Linked DNA regions of Homo sapiens: region 1 is linked to region 2. Evidence: promoter capture Hi-C in 16 types of primary human blood cells and fetal thymus (Javierre and others, 2016). All regions are on one chromosome and are shown on one strand. The core of a region is centred on a gene start or on the middle of the fragment in contact, and the rest is flanking DNA. Distances in the headings are between cores, read along the strand shown. Region 1 has its middle 29 kb from the start of SHISAL2A. Region 2 holds the start of TUT4 (terminal uridylyl transferase 4).

What was found. Contacts are between HindIII fragments. The CHiCAGO score rates a contact against its expected background, and 5 or more counts as called.
Region 1: a fragment that was not itself captured here is called in contact with the fragment with the promoter of TUT4 in region 2 in 1 of 17 cell types (naive B cells); the score reaches 5.9 in naive B cells.

Annotation. Positions count from the first base shown.
Region 1 is chr1:52,660,449-52,663,329 of GRCh38, forward strand. It overlaps a transcript of SHISAL2A not described here. Among named protein-coding and RNA genes, the nearest start is that of SHISAL2A, 29 kb to the left of the region's middle. RefSeq lists a silencer at 2,509-2,803. The HindIII fragment of the contact is 3,239 bases long and covers 1-2,881 here.
Region 2 is chr1:52,551,536-52,554,413 of GRCh38, forward strand. TUT4 (terminal uridylyl transferase 4) reads right to left here and starts at 1,557. Exons shown (of 30, transcript NM_001009881.3): 1 at 1,396-1,557. It overlaps LOC105378723 (a long non-coding RNA gene), which reads left to right. Exons shown (of 4, transcript XR_007066083.1): 4 at 706-1,302. RefSeq lists silencers at 1,170-1,499, 1,570-1,699, 1,740-1,849, 1,860-2,259. The HindIII fragment of the contact is 23,021 bases long and covers 1-2,878 here.

The DNA.
Region 1 (2,881 bases), core at 85-2,584, 110 kb after region 2:
CAGCCGCAGTGGGAGGATGCTGGGTGGGCTGATACGCAGACAGAAATAGTCTGAGCTCACCGCTGTTCCCAAGCACACATCGACCGGCAATTATTTCTTGTAAATTGCTTTCCCGGTTATGTTCAGAACATGTGTGTGTGCCTGCCTGAGAACAAACACTCAGAGGGCACAGGGCGGAGGAGCTAGCTGGAGAGTGGGCTTCGGATGGAGGGGAGTGAATCTTCAGCCCAGAATTAGAGAATGTTGAATCTTGGAACTTGGAAACGTTAGAACATTCCACTCCCCTTTACAGCTATCCTGCTAGGTGTTTTTTTCTCAGACGTTCACATTTGTTTGTCCATTCAACATTGATTGACAATGATTTTCTGCCAGAATCTTGGCTAAATGAGGTCCCGATCCCTATCTTCAAGAAGCTCATTGCTACAGGCATTTACAAAAGATCCCTAATCTAGCCAAAGACTTTGGGAAGGCCTCCTGGAGTAAGCAATAACTGGATTAAGTTTAAAGGACCCACTGACAGGTGAAAGGAGGTTTCTGGTACAAGATGAGGAACAGCATTTAAGGCAGAAGGAACAGCATACATGAAGACCTATGGCTAAGAGAGACCATATGGTTCTTTCAGGTAACAATAAGTAGTTCAGTTTGGGTAGACACAAGGTGGGAATGGTGAAAGATGAAGCTGGAAGGGTAGACGAGCCAAGTCCTGAAGCCTTTGCCATATTAAGGGGCTTGGTCTTTATCCCGAGGGCAAAAGGGAGCCACAGGAAAGGGTTTCAAGCATGGAAAGGAACTCGACAACACCTTTTGTGAGCACTTGCTTCCTGTTCTCTGTAACATTGAAGTGAAATTTGCCATTCAGGATCTCTGCCTTTGGGGCCCTTTGGTTGCAGATCCTTCAGAAGTCTAAAGGACAGTGATGTCTCATGTATCCACAAGAAATGACTTGGGCCCTAGACATCTGTCCTCCGGTCAGGGGGAGGCCATTCTACTGCCTGACTGACTCATGACACTGCTCCTCCTGATCTGTGCCTGTTGGCTCAGGGGCCAGGGCACAAGACAGCCAAAGCCAGGCTGCAGGCCACAGCCCAGGAGAGCTCCATGCCTTGCTCGGTCCCAGAACCCTGGGTCCCACCTGGGAAGTCTCGTGTGTGGAACACTCACAGGGGTGTGAAGGGCTCCTTGCATACCTTCTCCATCCCTCACAGGATCAAGGCCACCCAGAGCAGATGACCCACTCTGAGAGAGTTGACTGAAGACACACTGTGGGCCCACCACTGTGACAAGCCCTTAGAATAGAATACGGCCGGGCATGGTGGCTCACAGCTATAATCCCAGCACTTTGGGAGGCCAAGGAGGGCGGATAACCTGAGGTCAGGAGTTCCAGACCAGCCTGGTCAACATGGTGAAACCCCGTCTCTACTAAAAATACAAAAAATTAGCCAGGCATGGTGGCAGGTGCCTGTAATCCCAGCTACTCGGGAGGCTGAGGCAGGAGAATCGCTTGAACCCAGGAGGAGGAGGTTGCGGTGATCTGAGATTGCGCCACTGCACTCCAGCCTGGGTGACAGAGCAAGACTCCGTCTCAAAAAAAAAAAAATAATAATAATCCTGCAACCCCGCCCTTCAGGCCTTACTTACTAGAGATGAAGAGTAGGTTTGACCCGTGAAACCCCTAGAGAACAGTCAGAGAGAGATCCCAAACAAATGCCAAGATGTGGGGTAAGGACCATTAGAGTTGCAAAGATTCTAAGGCAGGAGAAAAGAAACAGTCTGGAAGCCTTCATGGAGGAAGCAGGGGTTGAACTTAATCTTGATGGACCATGGCAATACTTGAAGGGTCTCATCCAGGTAGAGGAAGCATTCTATCCTGTCAACTTTCTATTTTATTTTATTTTATTTATTTATTTATTTATTGAGACAGAGTCTTGCTCTGTCACCCAGGCTGGAGTGCGATGTCTCAATCTCAGCTCACTGCAACCTCCACCTCCCGGGTTCAAGTGATTCTCCTGCCTCAGCCTTGTGAGTAGCTGGGATTACAGGCCCCTGCCAATATGCCCGGCTAATTTTTTTTTTTTTTTTTTAAATAAAGATGGGGTTTTACCGTGTTGGCCAGGCTGGTCTTGAACTCCAGACCTCAAGTGATCTGCCCACTTAGGCCTCCCAAAGTGCTGGGATTACAGGCGTGAGGTACCGCCCCCCCACCCTTTCTGTTTTAAAGAGAGTACCCCTTAGGGCTCCAAGGGCTCTGGACAAGTAGATCTCTCTAGCCCCACCTTCAGCCATAGTCCGCTAACCAACAGACTATCTTTTGTGTGCCAGGTCTTGTCCTGGGCTCTAGGAACAAAGAAATGAATCAGTCATAATTCCTGCCCTCAGGGAATTCTCAGGCTACTGGAGGAAGACTGCTAGGTTAAATAGACAGTTAAATACACTGTGGAAAGTGCCATGGTTTGTTTATTCAAGCACAGGGCAAAATCACTACTTGTCCAGCACAGAGGGCTGCTGTCGTGCAGCCAGCCTTATCTCCAAGGAGGCCTTTCTCCGGGAAGTAGGGAGCTTCATTGTGAAACCTTCATCTTCTAAACCTCCAGCTCCGGGTTCTCAAGCCCCGCCTTCTCTCCTGGCTGCTGTAGGTTACCATGGAAGCCGTAAGCCCCTCGCAGCTCCCTGCGGTTCCACACCCCTCCCTCTTCTCCATCTCTCTTAGCTCTTTGTCCTGTGGCTGCAGATGTCCTCCCGGGCTGATCAACTCCCGAACTTTCCCCAGGGTGAGAATTATTATCCCCATTTGAAATAGGGAAAAACTGAGACCCAGAGGCGTGAGGGATTTGCCCCAGACCCCTCGCAGCCCGTTACTGGCAGAATCCCAAGCACAGGTTCC
Region 2 (2,878 bases), core at 307-2,806:
GCACACTAGACACTAATGAGTTATCTTAAGCACAGCTTTTTAAGAGAATCAATATTTCATTTTACCAGTTGTGACTAATCAGTACTACGATGCAGTGTAGTGACATACATGAGTTCTAAGCCTAAAGAAAATTTCAGCGCGCTCGCGCGCGCACACACACACATACACACACACACACAAAGTCGGCTTTTCTTTTTAAACCATCCCACAATTCAACACCTCTCGGTGGTATTCTCTGAATTATCATATCTGGCTGGGATTATCCAATTTTATTAGCTAACAGTTCTCATTACTTTAAAAACAGAAACAGGATATGTTCTGTTTCATCAAGTGCTACAAACATTTCGCTGCTGTAAGACTGGAGGGAAAAAATCTTTGGAAATAAAAGGCCATCTGATCCACTCGGGCTAATTACTAAATGCATGCCAACAATACACAATTCGAATTGCATTTCTGGACACAATTTAAGATCACGATAGGGCAGGTCAAATGTGTAAGGAACTACTACTTCTATCAAAATGAAGAAGCAGATATACGGTATCTAAGATCTCACGCAAAATTCATCTAAGACTTCGAAATCTTCTGAAAAGAAAATGTGTAATCAACGTTGTTAATACAACAGTAATTCATCCCATTCAAGTACGACTAGAAATCCCGCTGATGTGCTTCTTTCAGGTCTAAACATCTCATTCTTTCGCAATCCAGATACCAACAGGAGTCTGAAACCCTTCGCAGAGGCGTGCAACACACTAGGAGAGCGCTATCTGTTTACAAATACGAATCTCAGTTACCCACGTCAAAACCGCGCATTACCACCTTTCGACTGGGGGGCGGGGGAGAGAGAAGGCGGGCGAGCAAGAAACAAAATCCACACAGACACCTCTGCCTTCTCCCTACAAGGACGAGCCCGGGGAAACATTCAGTATGTATTATATGCGTGTATACATTTATATACATTATGTAGTCACCTATGTCTAAGCAAGGGTGAAAGAAAAAGGTACACATGACAGGGAATCGTAACTGGACCCAACAGAAATGTTCAAACCAATCCCGTTAACTCAAAATCCGCCCCGCTGGTCTACAACAGGTTTCGGTCCGGGACCGGGAGCCCCAGCCACAGTGTGGAGTTCGTCCCCAAAGCGCCCCAATGCCCTCCTCAGGCCGCCCAGGCCGCCGTCCCCACCTCCCTTATCTCAGCCTTCCCCTGGGACACCCGAAGCCCGTTCCAGGAAAGAAAGAAGTGTCAGGCCCCCAGGGGGCGGCTGAGACGCTCTCAGGCCAGGCCCCCGACACCTGCGAAGCGCGGCACCTGGGGAGGGCGAACCGGGGGCCGCCCGGCCTTCCCGAGCACACCCCCTCGGTACCCGACGCTGCCCCGCGGCCGGAACCTCGTACCTGCGAGGCCCGCGAGCTACAGGCGCGCGCGACGCCTCCTCATCTCAGTGGCTCCTGCTCTCCCTCCGCCTCCTGCTGCCGCCGCCGTCGCCGCTGCCGCCGCTGGAGGCCGGGACACGACTAGCTCAGGACTCCACCGCCATGTCCGCCGCGCCGCGAACTGCATTGTGGGGGGGAAGGGATGGGGAGGGGGAGGAGGAGGGAGAGGGAGAGGGAGAGAAAGAGGAGGACCCGCTGAGGGGAGGGGGCGAGGGAGAGCGGTTGCCGGGGGAGAGGGGGAGGGGAGAGGACAGAGCCTGTAATGGGGTCCTGGCCCGGGAGAGGAGGAGCTACGCGCAGAGGGAAGGGTTCAGGGGTGCCCCCTCCCTTCGTTCGGGGGGCCCCACAGGCACCGTTTACACCGGGGCGGGGGAGGGGGGAAACAGCACTGGGGGGAGGGGTCTCGTGGTGGCCGCGAAGAAACAATGGGGAGAAGGCCGAGGTAGGAGGATCGCGCACTCACACCCACGCGGAGGGAAGGGAGCGCGCGAGAGACACTCGTTAGCTCGCGAGGAGGGGGCGGGCCGCTGGCAGAGGGGAGGAGGGAGCCACCCGGGGCTCGCGGGCAGGGGCGGGGCCGCCGAGCGGAGGTCGCGAGGTCCCGCAGCCCGCCTGGGCGCCGCGGGTTAGCCGCGCTGATTCGCCCGCTTGCCGGAGTGGGTGGGGGTGGCGGGCGCCCCAGTGCTGCCCCAGTCTGGTTCCTAGTCTCTGCCGAGGCCCCCGAGCTGGAAGCCGAGCCCGAGGGCCGCCTCGGCGCCTCGCTCCCAAGGCTGCTCCCCCTGGGGAGGAAGGCCGGCCTGGAATGGGTACCCTCTGGCCTGGCACTCGGACTGGGCGTGGCCCGAGCCTCGGCGGACCCTCGGAAGCCCAAGCGGGCTTCGGAGCAACGGTAGGGAGCGGGGCAGAGGAAGCCGCCAGGGTCGACCCCCACCCACTCACCACGGCCTCCAGCCCACCGCAGCTGGACCTTTTTTCCTTTGAAAAGGCAGGCAGTTCAGGAATGAAGGAGCTCGAAGAGAAATCTCTGGAGCACTCCATCTCCCACCCCCAAAAGAGGTTTTAGAAATCATTTCTTTAGCTGCAGGCGGGCATAAAACCATCTACCATCAATGGGCCCCCTCATCCCCTTGCTTTTAACGTATTACATTCCTCTACATAATTATTTAAAGTCACGGGCGGAACGGACTTAAGGTTTTGTTAGTTTTGTTTTTTGTTGTTTTTTTTTAAGACCCCAGCCTCAGAGATTATTTAGCCAATCTCTGACCTCAAAGCTGGACAAAGCACACAACCTCTGTGCTCTGTGCCCAGTCCTTTGAGTTTGACACATGCTAGGCAGGAAAAAGGTATGAAAAGAGTGGACGTAGAGGTGAAGGGAAGATGTTAAATCTTAAGTATTTACAAGATAGTGCCTTATAAATTTTCTTATAATGTGACTCAGGCTGGG